Linked DNA regions of Homo sapiens: region 2 is linked to region 1. The links are contacts of gene promoters, found by promoter capture Hi-C in human tissues and cell types (Jung and others, 2019). All regions are on one chromosome and are shown on one strand. The core of a region is centred on a gene start or on the middle of the fragment in contact, and the rest is flanking DNA. Distances in the headings are between cores, read along the strand shown. Region 1 holds the start of ZFYVE19 (zinc finger FYVE-type containing 19). Region 2 overlaps NUSAP1 (nucleolar and spindle associated protein 1).

The links. The method cuts DNA at HindIII sites, captures the fragments that hold promoters and counts their contacts. A contact is called where the count stands out against the background at its distance.
Region 2: a fragment that was not itself captured here is called in contact with the fragment with the promoter of ZFYVE19 in region 1 in 1 of the 25 tissues and cell types used here (IMR-90 fibroblasts).

The regions. Positions count from the first base shown.
Region 1 is chr15:40,804,791-40,808,785 of GRCh38, reverse strand. It overlaps ZFYVE19 (zinc finger FYVE-type containing 19), which reads right to left and starts at 1,697. Exons shown (of 11, transcript NM_001077268.2): 1 at 918-1,697. The coding sequence starts at 1,196. It overlaps DNAJC17 (DnaJ heat shock protein family (Hsp40) member C17), which reads left to right and starts at 1,313. Exons shown (of 11, transcript NM_018163.3): 1 at 1,313-1,417. The coding sequence starts at 1,340. RefSeq lists enhancers at 665-714, 1,345-1,394, 1,435-1,484, 1,945-2,034. The HindIII fragment of the contact is 16,570 bases long and covers 1-3,995 here.
Region 2 is chr15:41,338,815-41,342,780 of GRCh38, reverse strand. It overlaps NUSAP1 (nucleolar and spindle associated protein 1), which reads right to left. Exons shown (of 11, transcript NM_016359.5): 2 at 327-395. Among named protein-coding and RNA genes, the nearest start is that of NUSAP1, 7.9 kb to the right of the region's middle. The HindIII fragment of the contact is 4,302 bases long and covers 1-3,511 here.

The DNA.
Region 1 (3,995 bases), core at 448-2,947:
CAGAGCCGATGCCTCCTCTGCTCTTGCAGAGATGGAGGGAGGCTTGGCTCAGGATGGGCTAACAATAGCCTCCATTTATTAAGCACTTACTATGTGCCAGGCACTAAACCCAGTACTTAACATTCATCATGTGATTTATTCCTTACAATTTACACACATTATTTTACTTAATCTTGATGCCAACCGTGATTATCCTTATTTTGAGAGGGCCAGAGAGGTTACATAACTTATCCAAACCAAGGTCACCGCCTCAATAAGACAGCAGAGCTCAGATTTGAACGCTGACTCCAAAATCCAGGTTGGTGAATGCTGCACGGTCCTGCCTTCCTGCGTGACACTAATTTACTCCATCTAGTTCCCATCATCTCCTGGTCAGAATCCCTGGCCACAACTGAGGCAGAGGGAACCTGCAGTTTACCAGAGGAATCTGGCAGGTCTGTGATAGGGACAGGACAGTCAGCCTTCACCATGGTGCCCCGGAAGCAGGAGGAAGTGTGGTAATCTAACTCCAGCGACCTGGAGAAGGGCAGGCTGCGGGATGGGGAAGATTTCAGAGCAGAGGGAGTAACGGGCTTGGTGTGATGGACACCGCGCTTCGGAGGAGCAGGGTGGAGAGAAGAAAACCGCCAGATGCTACACTGGGCCGACAGAAAAGAGTAGCTTTGCAAAAACGACGGCAGCGCGCTTTACAGTTTATAGGGAACTCTCACCTAAAGCACTTCAGTGGACCCTCACATAAACCCTGAAAGCGAGAGAATGTTAGCCCCATTTTACAGAAATGGAAACTGAGGATCAATGACTTCATCAAAACCACACAGCTGGAAAGGAGCCGTAAGACCAAGTCTTTGGACGTTAAGTCCCGCGCTTTTCCCTCCTCTCCTCCCTGGCCCTGCAGCCCTCGGGGAGGGAAGACTCGCCTCCTTCTTGAAGAGGGTGAACTTGACAGCGCAGCCGTAGCACCTACTCTCCATGGTGGCTCCCAGCACCGCAGGGTCTGCAGAGCTGAGATCACGCCGGCCAAGTCCTGGGCCCCTTGGACCCTCACCCCAGCTCCGCCCTTCCCTTCCCTGCCCTGCCCCGCCCCACACGCCCACTGGCACTGTCCCGCCGCGACCTAGAGCAGGGAATCCGGACGCTCTCCTGCAGCCAGCGTACGGCAGCGGCGGCAACGGGGGCTGCTGGGAGTCGTAGTTCATTCACGACTGCCGGCCTCCCTCAGAGTCAGTCAAGCCTGACCCAGAACACAATTCCCAGAGGGCTAGGCGCCGCTCGGAGCCTGCAGTCCTCACGCGCGCTTAGACTCTTGGGAGTTGTAGTACGAATCCGTCAGGCCGGAACCATGGCAGTGACCAAGGAGCTCTTACAGATGGACCTGTACGCGCTGCTAGGCATTGAGGAGAAGGCAGCGGACAAAGAGGTGAGAACGGTGGCGAGGAAGGCTGATCTTGAGAGGTCTGGCGGTCCTTCCTGTCCTAGCGCCTCGGCCACTGCTGGCATCCGCTCTCCAGGTTCATTCGGGTCCTGGGCGGGGAGCGAGGGTCGGCGCTATGCCCTCCGCAGGCGGGCTCCCAGACATTTCCTGGACGGTCCGAGGGCCTCAAGAGGAAGCGGGGTACAGAGGGCTCTTCGCGCCGGGTGGCTGTGCTCTCCCCGTGGCCCCTGTCTCCTAGAGGCCGCGGGGCGAGGCAGCAAGGAACGCTAGCCTCCTCTGCGCCTGCGCAGTCTCGGCCTCCGTTTCCGCTTCTGCCTTGACTGTGACAAGAGGTGCCTCATTTCAGTCTCTTCTGCAGGCTGATTTAATTCTTCCACTAAGAGCCTAGAACGAAAGAAAAGTAAGATCTCAAAGCCTCTCCACTCCCTTTTCATGCCCCCTTGCCAATGTGACCGATGACCCTGCTGTCTCTATTTTCTTTTCCACTCAAGCCCATTGACTCTTTTCAAGTAGCTGATGCCCTTCTCAGCATGTGCTAGTTAGTGGGCTAAAAGCAGGAGGATCAGAAGGTTAAGGCAGATGGTATAGAGGTCCATGCTACCTTAGGTGGTGATAAAGATGCCAGGGAGTGAAACACTGATCAAGCTGGATTTAGGATTTCTTTTATCTCCCCCTGGATCATGGTGGTAGTTTTAACAATATACGAAGGAGAGGCGTTCATCAAATGAAAATTAGTGCCCAACTGAGCCGAGATCGCGCCACTGCACTCCATCCTGGGCGACAGAGCAAGACTCTTTCTCAAAAAAAGAAAGAAAGAAAGAAAATTAGTGTCTACTAGGCCGGGCGCGGTGGCTCACGCCTGTAATCTCAGCACTTTGGGAGGCCGAGGCGGGCGGATCATGTGGTCAGAAGTTCGAGACCAGCCTGACCAATATGCTGAAACCCCTTCTCTACTAAAAATACAAAAATTAGCCGGGCGTGGTGGCACACACCTGTAGTCCCAGCTACTTGGGAGGCTGAGGCAGGAGAATCACTGGAACCCGGGAGGCGGAGGTTGCAGTGAGCTGAGATTGCACCACTGCACTCCAGTCTGGGCGACAGAGCGAGACTGTCTCAAAAAAAAAAAAAAAAAAGGAAAAAAAAATAGTGCCCACTAATGTCCCAGTACTTCTGGGCTGCCCTGCTCATGGGGTGAGTGAGCTTTTGAGAAGAGGAAGCTCTGGGGCAGAAAATCAGAGAGACCCAGAGGGCCCTTGAGAAATGCTGTCAACCTGCACAAATCTGTCCCCTGCAGCCGCAGCTGAAATCAGAAATGGCCATGGGATGTCTATGAAGCATCAAAAGCATCTGCTCCACCTCTCTCGTGTTTCAATATTTTAGGATTAATAATTCCTAACATCTGTATAATGCTTACTATGTCCTAGACAGTATTTTTTTTTTCTGGATAGTATTCTAAGTGCTCTATGTTTACAAATTATTATTTTTTAAATTCTTTATTATTATTATTTTTTATTATTGTTTTTGAGACGGAGTCTCGCTCTGTGGCCCAGGCTGGAGTGCAGTGGCGCGATCTCGGCTTACTGCAACCTCCGCCTCTCGGGTTCACGCCATTCTCCTGCCTGAGCCTCTCCAAGTAGCTGGGACTACAGGCGCCTGCCACCATGCCCGGCTAATAATTTTTATTTTTAGTAGAGACGGGGTTTCACCGTGGTCTCGATCTCCTGACCTCGTGATCTGCCCACCTCAGCCTCCCAAAGTGCTGGGATTACAAGCGTGAGCCACCGTGCCCGGCCTATTATTATTTTTTGAGACGGAGTCTCGCTCTGTCGCCCAGGCTGGAGTGCAGTGGCGCAATCTCAGCTTACTGCAACTTCTGCCTCCCAGGTTCAAGCGATTCTCCTGCCTCAGCCTCCGGAGTAGCTGGGACTACAGGCATGTACCACCACGCCCGGCTAATTTTTTTTTTTTTTTTTTTTTTGAGACAGAGTATCACTCTTTGGCCCAGGCTGGAGTGCAGTGGCATGATCTCGGCTCACTGCAACCTCCGCCTTCCTGTTTCAAGTGATTCTCCTGCCTCAGCCTCCCAAGTAGCTGGGATTACAGGCACCCGCCACCACGCCCAGCTAATTTTTGTATTTTTAGTAGAGACGGGGTCTCACCGTGTTGGCCAGGCCAGTCTTGGATTCCTGACCTCGTGATCTTCCCACCTCGGCCTCCCAAAGTGCTGGGATTACAGGTGTGAGCCACTATGCCCTGCCTGCAAATTATTTAATTAGTACTTTATTAATAGTGAGAAACTATTTGAGACATTTCACAAAAGATCCAAGTGGGAAATCTGGAGGGTTTTTTTTTGAGACGGAGTCTCACTCTCTTGCCTAGGCTGGAGTGCAGTGGTGCAACCTTGGCTCACTGCAACCTCTGCCCCCCAGGTTCAGGGAATTCTCCTGCCTCAGCCTCCTGAGCAGCTGGGATTACAGGCATGTGCCACCACACCCAGCTAATTTTTGTGTTTTTATCAGAGACAGGGTTTCACCATGTTGGTCAGGCTGGTCTTGAACTCCTG
Region 2 (3,966 bases), core at 111-2,610, 530 kb before region 1:
TGCAACCTCCACCTCCCGGGTTCAAGCAATTCTCCCTGTCTCAGCCTCCTGAGTAGCTGGGATTACAGGCTCCCGCCACCACATCTGGCTAATTTTTGTATTTTTAGTAGAGACGGGGTTTCACCATGTTGGCCAGGCTGGTCTCGAACTCCTGGACTCAAGTGATCCGCCTGCCACTGCCTACCAAAGTGCTAGGAGTATAGGCGTGAGCCACAACACCTGGCCAACAGCATGTCTTAAATCATCACTAGTTGTGTGTTAATTGCCCATTAACCAAATATGATTATTTTGCTAGCTAACAGGTAAACATGAAAAACATTACTCACCTGATTCTCATTTCCTTTTCTTGCCTCATGTTTAATGTAGCCTTTCAAGGCTTTTAACAACTTGGTTGCCTGCAAGAGAGACCTTATTATTAGAGCCAAAAGTCAAATAAACAAGGAAGATACGTTGAATATTTTTTGCTGTTCTTGTATTCATTAAATGTACTCTGGTCAGACCATAGGACTAGAACCATTACTTAGAAAGAATGGGTCTCTGCTCTAAGGAATTTCACATCTGAGTGGGAAAGTTAGACAAGGAAAGAGGCAATTGCAATACAGTGGGGTAAATGCCCACGCTAGGAGGCTCAGGCTGTCATGAGAACATAGGTAGGCATGGCCATCAAAGTTGGGACTGCTAGGTTAGACTTCAGCAAGTATCTGCACAGGGCAGTTCTCAGATAAAGATGTGATGTCTCTAATTGCTGAGATCTGAAGGATGAAGAGAAGGTAGAGAAAGAGGTAGAGGAATGGCACAGCAAGGCAACAATGAGGGTGGAGTTTGAAGAACTTAAGTTCAGTGTGGCTGGAACATGGACCTGTTTGTAGGAGATAGTAAGAGACAATGTTGGGAAAGTGAGCAGGGCCGTGATGTTACCAGGCCTTGTAAGCCTTTAAAGAGTATGAACTTTACTCTCAGAGAAAAGGGCAGTCTCTGAAGAGTTTGCAGCAAGGCAGTGGGTGACCAATTTTGCATTACTCAGAATGAGTAGTCTACCTGCACAATGTGCAAGATGCATTTGATGGGGATGAGCCAGAAATGCTGTGGCCTGAACTGGAGCGGGGCTAAGGCAGTATGGATGAAGTCAAAACCTTCTTAGGAAGTGAAATCAGTGTGAACATGAGAGTTGAGGAAGAGGGAAACTTTGTTATGCCAACGTTTCTGGCTTGGACAGCTGGTGAAGTGTGGTACGGTCCCTAAGATGAGGAATGCAAAAGGTGACGGGGTCTTAGGGGGATGGTTGTAGGTCTCTGCCGGGGGAAGGGAACACTGAGCTTCTCTTCCCAGCCTAGGAAAACCTCCCTTCTTGTTCTTTCCTGAAAGAACAATGTTAATTTGATTGGTTACATTTTCCTGTGCTTTAAAAGTCAAGTTTGGTTGAGCGGGGTGGCTCATGCCTGTAATTCCAGCACTTTGGGAGGCCGAGGCAGGTGGATCACGAGGTCAGGGGTTTTAGACCAGCCTGGCCAACATGGTGAAACCCCGTCTCTAATAAAAAAACAAAAATTAGCCGGGCATGGTGGTGTGTGCCTGTAGTCCCAGCTACTTGGGAGGCTGAGGCAGAAGAATTGCTTGAACCCAGGAGGCGAAGGTTGCAGTGAGCCGAGGAGATGATGCCACTGCACTCTAGTCTGGGCGATAGAGCAAGACTCCGTTTAAAAAACAAAAGTCAAGTTTTTTGGTTGGGTTCTTTTTTTCTTCCTCTTCCACCCAGCCATGCAGTTGAGGGCCACAGCCATCCTTCTCAAGGTGGGCCCAGCCACCAGGCTTGGCTCTATTCTTCTCATGCCTTTTATCATGGGCCATGTGTCCAGTAGAGAATAGCAGAGATCCTGAAATTTGGTTTGTGCTCAAGCTTTTGCTTGTGGTGCAAGCCTAAGCCACAGTCTCCAATCCACTTTACCAGAATGCTCTGCATCAAGATATCAGGCACTATTTCAGCTAGTAATAAAGTGGTACCTTATTTTCTACTTGTTCCTTGAACCACCCTTGAGGTTTTCTCTGGGAAGGGGATGATTGGCAGGGCAGAATTCAGGCATTCTTGATTTTTCTAATACTCTCTTAATATACCTTCAAAATCTCACCAAACATACAAAAATGCATGAAGTGAGGCACCTGTGGCAGAACCCAGTGAGGAGGTTGAATGATATGAGGTGGTGTTCAAGAGTTGTGCTGAAGGTGCAGATGTTAGTTATCAGCATATATTCATGCATTCCTTCAACAAGCATTTATTGTGCTGGGCACTGTTCCAGACACTAGAGAGTGATTAATTAAACAGACAAGGTGATTGCCCTCCAGGATCTTCTAGCAGAGGTGAAACAGTTACCCAAGAAAGCTAGAAATGAATGATATGACGTCAGGTATTATGATGCAAAAATAAAACTGGGCAACTGGGGTGGGGTGGGGATGCTACCTGAATTAGGATGGCTGGGAAAGGCCTCCCGAGATGTGAATGAGGAAAGAGGCAGCAGGTGAAGAGCACTCCGAGCAGAGCGAGCGCCAAGAACAGGAGCCCTGAGGTGGACTCATGAGTTGAAAGACAGAAACTGCCCTTATGGTAGAAGTATGGTGAACACTGAGGTATATGGAGGGCAGGGAGATCAGAGATGTGACCAGAGGCTGGGTCAAGTAGAGAGGTAAAGGCCACAGCAAAAATTATGAATTTCAGCCAGGTACAGTGACTAATGCCTGTAATCCTAGCACTTTGGGAGGCCGAGGCAGGAAGATCACCCAAAGTTAGGAGTTCAAGACCAGCCTGGCCAACAGGGTGAAACCCCATGTCTGCAAAAAATAGCTGGGCGTGGTGGTGGGCACCTGTAGTCTGAGCTACTCAGGAGGCTGAGGCGGGAGAATCACTTGAACCTGGGAGGTGGAGGTTGCAGTGAGCCGGAATCGCACCACTGCACTCCAGCCTGGGTGACAAGAGCGAAAGTCTGTCTCAAAAAAAATAAAAAAATAGAAAAAAAATTAATTTCTTCCCCTAAATTGTTATTAGAAAAAAAGTCAGGCCTATAGAAAAGTCAAAGTAGGCTGGGTGTGGTGGCTCACGCCTGTAATCCCAGCACTTTGGGAGGCCTGAGGCAGTCAGATCACCTGAGTTCAGGAGTTCCAGACCAGCCTGAACAATATGGAGAAACCCTGTCTCTACTAAAAATACAAAATTAGCTGGGCATGGTGGCACATGCCTGTAATCCCAGCTACTTGGGAGGCTGAGGCAAGAGAATTGCTTGAATCCAGGAGGTGGAGGTTGCAGTGAGCTGAGATCATGCCGTTGCATTCTAGCCTGGGCAACAACAGCGAAACTCCGTCTCAAAAAAAAAAAAAAAAGAAAAGTCGAAGTAATGTAATAAACACTCATATTTCCCACCAAGATTCAATAGTCATTTGCATTGTCTCATATTTGGTTTCTCTATATTAATATATAATTCTTGTGAAAGAATTTGAAAATAAGTTCCAGACATCATGATTCTTTACCACTAAATATATCAGCCACATCTCCTAAAAATAAGAGATTTCCCCACATGATCCTCTAATGCATTAGTGTACTCAGGAAAAGCAATAATTTCCTAATATCACCTAATATGTGGCCCATAATGAAATTTCCTTCTCTCCAATTTTAGCTATTTTCTTTTTAAAAAAATTTCCCTCCAAATCAGGGTCAAACTAAGTTTCTCTCATTACACTGGAAAGAGTTTAGATTTTATTTTAGATGTGAGGGAAGTCATTGGAGGGCACTGAGCAGAAAGACACGTTCTAAGTTTATTTTTTTTTTTGGAGACAGAGTCTCGCTCTGTCGCCCAGGGTGGAGTGCAGTGCCGTGATCTTGGCTCACTGCAGCCTCCACCTCTCAGGTTGAAGGGATTTTCGTGCCTCATCCTCCCGAGTAGTTGGGATTATAGGCACATGCCACCACGCCTGGCTAAT